2 separate regions of the Homo sapiens genome follow, and region 2 is linked to region 1. Evidence: promoter capture Hi-C in 16 types of primary human blood cells and fetal thymus (Javierre and others, 2016). All regions are on one chromosome and are shown on one strand. Each heading gives the region's core, a stretch centred on a gene start or on the middle of the fragment in contact. The rest is flanking DNA. Distances are from core to core; before and after follow the strand shown. Region 1 holds the start of POP4 (POP4 ribonuclease P/MRP subunit). Region 2 overlaps LINC00662 (long intergenic non-protein coding RNA 662).

What was found. The method cuts DNA at HindIII sites, captures the fragments that hold promoters and counts their contacts. A CHiCAGO score of 5 or more calls a contact.
Region 2: a fragment that was not itself captured here is called in contact with the fragment with the promoter of POP4 in region 1 in 3 of 17 cell types (total CD8 T cells, naive CD4 T cells and total B cells); the score reaches 6.2 in total CD8 T cells.

Annotation. Positions count from the first base shown.
Region 1 is chr19:29,602,714-29,607,815 of GRCh38, forward strand. POP4 (POP4 ribonuclease P/MRP subunit) reads left to right here and starts at 3,570. Exons shown (of 7, transcript NM_006627.3): 1 at 3,570-3,612. The coding sequence starts at 3,606. RefSeq lists an enhancer at 3,223-3,712. The HindIII fragment of the contact is 1,017 bases long and covers 2,996-4,012 here.
Region 2 is chr19:27,787,350-27,792,319 of GRCh38, forward strand. LINC00662 (long intergenic non-protein coding RNA 662) reads right to left here. Exons shown (of 3, transcript NR_027301.1): 3 at 3,144-4,552. Among named protein-coding and RNA genes, the nearest start is that of LINC02987, 3.6 kb to the right of the region's middle. The HindIII fragment of the contact is 506 bases long and covers 3,421-3,926 here.

The sequences.
Region 1 (5,102 bases), core at 2,320-4,819:
GTAATCCATCATGTTATAGAAATGTGTTAGCAGTGGCAGAGAACCGAGTTACCCCAAGTAACTGGAGACGAATCCGTACGCGTTCGCAGCAACTTCAATCTTTGCCTTGTCAAAAGAAAGAATTTGACTGAGGGGCAAAAAGCAGAAAGAGACCAAGGCAAGTTTCAGAGCAGGAGTGGAAGTTTATTAAAAAGCTTTAGGCCGGGCATGATGGCTCACACCTGTAATCCCAGCACTTTGGGAGGCCGAGGCGGGTGGATCACAAGGTCAGGAATTCGAGACCAGCCTGACCAACATGGTGAAACCCCATCTCTACTAAAAATACAAAAATTAGCTGGGTATGGTGGTGTGTGTCTCTAATCCCAGCTACTTGGGAGGCTGAGGCAGGAGAATCGCTTGAACCTGGGAGGTGGAGGTTGCAGTGAGCCAAGATCGTGCCACTGCACTCCAGCCTAGGAGATAGAGCAAGACTCCGTCTCGGAAAAAAAAAAAAAAAAAAGCAAAGCTTTTGAACAGTAAGGAAAGGAAAGAAAAGGAAAGTATTATACAAGTTGGAAGGACAAGCAGGCAACTTGAGAAACCAAGAGCGCAGCCTGACCCCTTGACTTGGGGTTTTACACGTTGGCCTACTTCCAGGATCTACTTCCAGGATCTTACATTACTTCTCCCCACTCCTGAGATCTTACAGGAAGCTGCTGATCAGTTTCAGGTGTTTTCTATCTGTTAGGCGGCTGCCTGTTCCCTAGCGCCAGCTGTGGCCAATTACTTTAGAGAAACAGTTAACAACCACCTGACCATCACCTGATGGTGGCCCAACACCCCTGGTGTGTGTAGCGGGGAGCCTTCTCCTGCCCTGCTCATACCTGACTACCTACCTACTGTAACAAATGTGCCATACCTAGGAACAGTTTATAAAAACAGATTACTGGGACCCACCTTATAAAAACAGATTATTGAGACCCACTGGATAAAAACGAATCTCCAGGTATGATACCAAGAAATTTGAAATGAAAGCTTACCCTGTGATTGTGATCCTGTATTTGGTCTGTGGATCAAGCAAATTAAGTGTGTGCTAACTAATCAGGTAAATTAATGCATTTAATAATGCATTAATTAGCATACCTAATTACCTAATTAGCACATAGTTAATTTGCTTGATCCACTATGATCAAATATAGCATTGTTTTTAAGTTTTTGCTATTATAAACAAAAATCACAAACATCCTCACAGGTATCTCTCTGCATACAGAAACATTTTCTGAGAATAATCAAGTGGTTTGTTTGCTTTTTATTTTTTTTGTTTGTTTGCTTTTTAAAAAATATTTTAGGCTGGGCGCAGTGGCTCACCCCTGTAATCTCAGCACTTTGGGAGGCCGAGGCGGGTGGATCATGAGATCAGGAGTTCGAGACCAACCTGACCAACATGGTAAAACCCTGTCTCTACTAAAAATACAAAAATTAGCTGGGCGTGGTGGTGTGTGCCTGTAATCTCAGCTACTCAGGAGGCTGAGGCAGGAGAATCACTTCAACCTAGGAGGCAGAGGTTGCAGTGAGCCGAGATCACACCATTGCACTCCAGCCTGGACAACACAGCAAGACTCCGTCTCAAAAAAAAAAATATTTTAATGATGAAGGAACTATGTTGTAATTGCAACTCAAGGACGACCCACCCCACCACCATCAGGGAATTCGAGGGGAGACTGGCAGTTATCCAGGGATCCCAGAAGGAGTCAACTGGGAGTTAAGAGTCCTAACAACCCTAGAAAAAAACTTTCAAAGACACAGGTCTTCTCATTAATCTCCATAATCACAGAGGTCTTGCCTAAAAGGGCCCCCCTTGAGTACACAGCTCTGAAACTGGCTAACATCTTCTGCTGTCTCATTTGATTTTAAAGTTCACATTTGTGAAGGGCTCTATTGTACAACATGGTGACTATAGTTAATAACAGTGAATTTCAGTTAATAACCTGAATTTCACTGAGAGTAGGTCTGAAGTGTTCTCATCACAAAATGAGTGTATTAGCATCGCTCATAGCTCATTTAGCCATTACACAATGTATACACATTTCAAACCATATTGTATACCATAAATACATACAATTCTTATTGGTTAATTTTAAAAATAATAAAAGTTCTCTATCAGTCCCATAAATTACAATTTTCAGGCATCTGCAAAGGCAGCATGTTTTGGTTTAAATGTGGTCTTTCCAAATTTTATACGTATAAAATAAATGCATAAGTGTACTACATATGCAAAAACTAATACATAAATTTTATAAAGTCAATGCACGCGGGGTCACTGGGATGAACCAATTTCAGTGCCTGCAGTCTAATGTTTAAAATCAAAATGGTACAAGGTCACCACCAAAGAAATTGTTTAAGCCAATGTTTCTCAAACTAAAACCTTTGGACATACTCCCAGAATCCCCTGTAAAGAAATGTATACTGTACTCAAAGTTGAGAACCACTGACTTAGCATAAAGGGACCGTATTTCTTTTCTCTCCCACCCAGCACAGGCCCAGTGCTCAGCAGAAATTGGGGCTCCACAGTTCTGCCCAACACTGGGTCACTGCTGAGAAGTCTGCACCAGGCCTTCCTGCACCTTTCCACTGAGCAATGGAGTTTGTTTATTCATTTATTTATTTATATGGAATTTATTTATTTATTTTGGAGACAGGGTCTCACTCTGTCACCCAGGCTGGAGTGCAGTAGCGCAATCCAGGTTCACTGCAGCCCTAAACTCCTTGGGCTCAACTGATCCTCCCACCTCAGATACCCGAGTAGTTGGGACTACAAGCACGCACCACCACGCCTGGATAATTTTTTTTAAATGTTTTGTAGAGATGGGGTCTCCCGATGTTGCCCAGGCTGGTCTCGAACTCCTGGGCTCAAGAGATCCTCCCGCCTGCGCCTCCCACGGTGTGAGCCACCTTTGATCTTATTGCTATGATTTTTTTATTGATAAAAACTAATAAATATTCTGAGTCTCAAGAAAGCTTTCTGAAACTATCAAAGGGACCCAGGCGGCGCATCACTACCTGTGAGGCCGACCCCACTCACAGCACAGACTGCAAGTGAGGCTTACAGATGGGAAGTGCCCTAAGCGAGGTTAAACAGCTAGTTAGCAGCAGACACGGAACTAGAACCTAAGCCTGCTGTCCCAGCTTCGGTGCCCGTGCTCACAGCGGAAGCTGCCTCGGCTCATCCGTAAGGGCGCTGATTAGGGACGACAAAGACCTCACCCCACCGTCCCCGTCCCATTTCCGCCCTCCCAGATCCCCAACCTCCTTCGAGTCCTCTCCAAGTCGCCTCGCCTCGCTCCACTCCAGGCCTTAGCAAGCATTCCACATGCCTTTACCCCAACCCTACTGCCTGTCCCCCAAAAGATGCAGGCGGAAAAGACCCCAGGAAGCGAGCCCACTCCTCCCCACTGCTCAGCAACACCGCCTACGACGTTCTCAGTAGCCGAATCCCTTTCCAGGCGCATGCGCCCCCGAGGTGGGCGAGCGCCGGTGATGTCACGCATAGCGCCATCTCCGAGCTCCGAGAGTCTGCGACAGCAGCTGCCAGTGCGTCATCAGAGAGCGCCGGAAGCGGTCCGAGAATGAAGAGTAAGCGGGGCCGCGAAGTTGGAGAGGGTTGGGGACGTTAAGGGTCGGGGTCTTGGTACTGGTGGGTGAAATGGGTCCGGGCTACCTGTTGCTGCGGAGTCCTAACAGAACCGCTACAGGAATGGGCCCACCCTACCTAAGAAAAACTGAGGGCTGGAGCACGGGTTAGCCTGGCTCGACCTCTGAGCTAGGGAGGGATGTCAGGGCTGGAGGCAGGTTCTCCCGGAGGCTGCTCAGTGGTGTGCGATGCTAGAGGAGGGTTCCAGGCCTTGGCTCAACTTGGCCACTATCTCCCGGGGTGACCGCGGTCAAGATCCTGCTCCTTTCTGCGAGCTGGTTTCACACTCTTAACCTGATGCAAAGCGCCGAGAGCTGCTGGGGAATGATATCACTAACCCAAAGCTTTGGTCCTTAGGGGTAGAAGACATGTGCCAAGGAGGGGCGTGTAGACACCGTTAAGACTGGGCCTTCAATCAGAATTTTTATTTTTCATCTCTGCCACTTTCTACCTATATGATCAAGTAGATTGTCTCGGCATGTCTGAGCTTCAGTTTGCTCATGCACATAAGTGTAATGAGAAAAAATATGTGTACCTTGTAATGAGGTTTCTGGCAAGTAATGGATGTTCAGTAATTGTTAGATGTGTATTGTTGCAGAAAGACTTCCAAGTCTGTTACTAAGCACCTGTAACAGATGAAGCAAAGTTATCAGGCCCCGCAAGTTGCTCTCTACAGTTTATAATCCCCATCTTCCATTTGAGGGAGAACTAGATGCTATATATAAAACTTGCAACCACATTGGTTTGCTTGATCAAACAAACATACCTGGCTGGGTGTGGTGGGACACGCCTGTGGTCCCAGCACTTTGGGAGGCTGAGGCAGGGGGATCACTTGAGGCCAAGAGTTGAAGACCAACTTGGGCAACAACATAGCGAGACCCTGTCTCTACAAAAACTGGAAAAAAAAAAAAAGAATTAGCCAGGTGTGGTGGCACACACCTGTAGTCTCAGCTACTCAGGAGACTGAGGTGGGAGGATCACTTGAAACCAGGAGGTCGAAGTTGCAGTGAGCTATGATTGTGCCACTGCACTCCAGCCAGGGCAACAGAGCAAAACCCAGTATCAAAACAAACAAACAAACAACAAAAAAAAAAAACTTGTAACCACCTTGCATCAAACATTCTCAGGGAAGTACAAGAAAGCTGGAATTAAATTTACAGAGTATAGTGTAAATTACATTTTCTAGCTATTTAGCTCATAAACCAGGCCTTAGTAGTCCCATTCTTATTCCATTCACACCTGTACTCTGTCCCCAGTGCCATGGTTTTCTTCTTTCAAAAAATTAAGAAACAGAAGTGTGGAATTTATTTTAGAGGTTGAAACTTTATTGACCAATGTATATTTTGAGTTTAAAGGAAAAACTTGTATTTTATCAGTTCAGGACACCATCGATTATGTGACACATTATAATTTCATATTAAAATGTGAAGAA
Region 2 (4,970 bases), core at 2,424-4,923, 1.8 Mb before region 1:
GCACAAATCGACAGAATTGAAGAGAGAAGTCGACAGAATTGGAGAAGTCGACAGTTCTAAAATAATAGAGATGATAATACTCCACTCTCTGTAATGAACAGAATCACCAGATAGAAGATAAGTTAGAAATAAATGGCTTATATAATACAACAAACCAACTAAATTTAACAGATACATATACAGGATACTCCACCCAACAACAGAAGAATACACACTATTCTCAATGTCCATGGATCACACATGGACATTCTCCAGGATGGACTGTATGTTATGTCACAAATCAAGTCAATAACAGAAGGAAAACTAAAACACTCACAAAGTTGTAAAATTTAACATACTCTTAAACAACCAATAAGTAAAAGAAAAAAACTCAAGGGAAATTAAAAAATACAGAGAATGGAAAATGAAAATACAACATACCAAAAGTTATGAGATGCACAAAAGCAGTGTGAAGATCAGAAATTTATAGCTATAAACACATTAAAGAAGGGCCTTGGCTGGGCGTGGTGGCTCATGCCTGTAATCCCAGCACTTTGGGAGGCCAGGCAGGTGGATCACCTGAGGTCAGGAGTTTGAAACTAGCCTAGCCAAAATGGTGAAACCTTGTCTCTACTAAAAATACAAAAATTAGCCGGGCATGGTAGCGGGCATCTGTAATCCAAGCTACTCAGGAGGCTGAGGCAGGAGAATCGCTTGAACTCAGCGGGTGGAGGTTGCAGTGAGCTGAGATTGCACCACTTCACTACAGCCTCGGCAACAGAGTGAGACTCTGTCAAAAAAACAAAACAAAAAGAAGAAGAAGAAGAAGAAGAAGACGAAGGGTCTCAAATCAATAACCTAACTTTATGACCTAACAAATTAGAAAAAGAATGAACTATGCACGAAATAAACAGAAAGAAGAAAATAATGAAGATCTTAGTAGAGATAAAGAAAATAGAGACCAGAAAAACAGAAAACCAACAAAACCAAAAGTTGGTTCTTGGTTCTTCAAAAATGTTGACAAATTCACAAACTTCTAGCTACACTATGAAAAAAATTACAGAATACTCAAAATAGTAGAATGAGAAATGAGATGGGGACATTACTACTAATTCTTCTTTTTTTTTTTTTTTTTTTGACAGAGTCTCGCTCTGTCACCAGGCCGGAGTGCAGTGGCCCGATCTCAGCTCACTGCAACCTCCGCCTCCCAGGTTCAAGCGATTCTCCTGCCTCAGCCTCTCAAGTAGCTGGGATTAGAAGCATGCACCACCATGCCCAGCTGATTTTTGTATTTTTAGTAGAGACAGGGTTTCACCATATTGGCCAGAATGGTCTCAATTTCCTGATCTCATGATCTGCCTGCCTGATTCTAAGAAATAAAATGTTTTAAAGAGTGTACTGTGAACAACTGTGTGACAACAAAATGAACAATCTAGATGAAATGGACAAATTTCTAGGTATAAAAAACCTAGCAAGACTTGATTACCAAGAATAGAAAAATTGAATTGATCCATAACTTATAAGGAAATCAAATCAAAAATCAAAAACCTGCTGACAAAGAAAAGCCCTTGACCTGATGGCTTCAGTAGTTAATTCTACCAAACATTTTGAAAGACTGAAAATCTTTTTCAAACTCTTCCAAAAAATTGAAAAGGAGAGATCAGTTCCAAACTCATTCCACAATCTCAGCATTACCGTATATCAAAGCCAGAAAAAGACACTACAGAAAACTACAGATTAATTATCCCTTATGAACACAGATGCAAAACTCAACAAAATTCCAGCAAATAAAATTCAGCAGCATATTAGAAAGATGATCTCACCATCTTGAATTAATTTTTGTATAAGGTGTAAGGAAGGGATCGAGTTTCAGCTTTCTACGTATGGCTAGCCAGTTTTCCCAGCACCATTTATTAAATAGGGAATCCTTTCCCCATTGCTTGTTTTTCTCAGGTTTATCAAAGATCAGATAATTGTAGATATGTGGTGTTATTTCTGAGGGCTCTGCTAGACCTAAAACTATAAAAACCCTAGAAGAAAACCTAGGCATTACCATTCAGGACATAGGCATGGGCAAGGACTTCATGTCTAAAACACCAAAAGCAATGGCAACAAAAGCCAAAATTGACAAATAGGATCTAATTAAACTAAAGCGCTTCTGCATAGCAAAAGAAACTACATCAGAGTGAACAGGCAACCTACAAAATAGGAGAAAATTTTTGCAACCTACTCATCTGACAGAGGGCTAATATCCAGAATCTACAATGAACTCAAACAAATTTACAAGAAAAAAACAAACAACCCCATCAAAAAGTGGGAGAAGGACATGAACAGACACTTCTCAAAAGAAGACATTTATGCAGCCAAAAAACACATGAAAAAATGCTCACCATCACTGGCCATCAGAGAAATGCAAATCAAAACCACAATGAGATACCATCTCACACCAGTTAGAATGGCAATCATTAAAAAGTCAGGAAACAACAGGTGCTGGAGAGGATGTGGAGAAATAGGAACACTTTTACACTGTTGGTGGGACTGTAAACTAGTTCAACCATTGTGGAAGTCAGTGTGGTGATTCCTCCGGGATCTAGAACTAGAAATACCATTTGACCCAGCCATCCCATTACTGGGTGTATACCCTAAGGACTATAAATAATGCTGCTATAAAGACACATGCACACGTATGTTTATTGCGGCACTATTCACAATAGCAAAGACTTGGAAGCAACCCAAATGTCCAACGATAGACTGGATTAAGAAAATGTGGCACATATACACCATGGAATACTATGCAGCCATAAAAAATGATGAGTTCATGTCCTTTGTAGGGACATGGATGAAATTGGAAATCATCATTCTCAGTAAACTATCGCAAGAACAAAAAACCAAACACTGCATATTCTCACTCATAGGTGGGAATTGAACAATGAGAACACATGGACACAGGAAGGGGAACATCACACTCTGGGGACTGTTGTGGGGTGGGGGGAGCGGGGAGGGATAGCTTTAGGAGATATACCTAATGCTAAATGACAATTTAATGGGTGCAGCACACCAGCATGGCACATGTATACATATGTAACTAACCTGCACATTGTGCACATGTACCCTATAACTTAAAGTATAATAATAATAAAATTTAAAAAAAAAGAAAGATGATCTCACCACGACCAAGTGCAATTTATTCTTAGAATGCAAGGATATCTTAAAACATGAATTTTTTAACATATAAAAATTGATCAATGTGTACACATTAACAAAATAAAAGAAACATTGATCACCTCATGGATGCAGAGAAAAGTATTTTATGAAATTCAAAATCTTTTCAGGGTGAAAACACTCAAAAAAGTAGGAATTTTAAAACTAAAATACTACCATTGTGAAATCCACACATTAAAAAACCACATCAAACAATGTACTCCAGGGTGAAAGACAAAAAGCTTCTGCTCTAAGCTCAGGAACAAGGCAAAGGTGTCTGCTTTTGCTATTTCTATTCCACATAGTGTTGGAAGTTCTAGTCAAATTAAGAATTAAAAAGAAACAAACTATCCAAATTGGAAATGTAGAGGTAAAATTACTCTAGCCTACAGATAATATAATTTTATGTGGAAAGCTCTAGAGATTTCACAGATCCACACAAAAAGTATTACAACTAATAAATTCAGCATAGTAGCAGCATACAAAATTAACATGCAAATATCACTTGTGTTTCTATACAGTAATGATGAATAATTAGAAAACAAAACTAAGCAAACAAGCACATTTACAATAGCACTGAAAAGAATAAAATACGTCGGGAGTAACAAAAAAAGCAAAAAATTCTATTTTGCAGAAATAGAAAAATCCTACCTAAATTTCATATGGAATCTCAAGGGACCCCAATGAGTCAAAATTATCTTGAAAAAGAAGTCCAGTGTTACAAAATGTACACTTATTCATTCCAAAGCTTAATACAAAGTTCCAAAATAGTGTGGTACTGGCAAAGAGACACACATATGGACACTGGAACAGTATAAAGCAGCATATGGTCAAATAATTTTTGATGGGGATACAAAGACCGTTCAATGGGCAAAGGACTGTCTTTATAACAATTGGTGCTGGGAAAAAATGGATATCCACAAGCAAAAGGATGAAGTTGAACATTTACCCTACACCATAAACAAATAAAAATGCATCAAAGACCTAAAGGTAAGAACTTAAAGTATAAAATTTTTGAATAAAATATAAGTAGAAAACATCATGACAATATCACAAATATAATGACACATTTAAAAAAGTAGATGTGGCCAGGCATGGTGGCTCACGCCTGTAATCCCAGCACTTTGGGAGGAGGAGGCAGCCGGATAACGAGGTCAAGAGATTGAGACCATCCTGGTCAACATGGTGAAACCCCGTCTCTACTAAAAATACAAAAATCAGCTGGGCGTGGTGGCGCATGCCTGTAGTCCCAGATACTTGGGAGGCTGAGGCATAAGAATCGCTTGAACCCAGGAGGTGGAGGTTGCAGTGAGCCGAGACAGGCCACGGCACTGTACAGCCTGGTGACAGAGCGAGACTCTGTCTCAAATAACTAAAAAAGAAAAAAAGAAAAAGTAGGTGTAAAACTATCCATAGTAGATACTCTCATTTACATAAAATCCAGTAAGAAAACAAAACTGAAGTTCTGGCTTCCGGTAATACTGGAGTAGCTTGCTAAACTAACACTCTCACAGATAACAATGATACAATCTGGATAAAATATTATATATAGTTACATAGAAACATTCATCTATATACAATACATACATACGTGTGTGTGACTGAATGAGAATTTCAACCTTTCCCACCGTAGGGAAGATAATTATTCTGTTTGAATTCAGCCACATTTACCCCCTCTTCAAATAATAACAATGCTCTTCCAAAGAATACAACAGAATTTAGTCTCTATAACTAATATTTATAATTTCTATTACACAATATTAAAATTCATAAAATGTGTGAAGAAATGT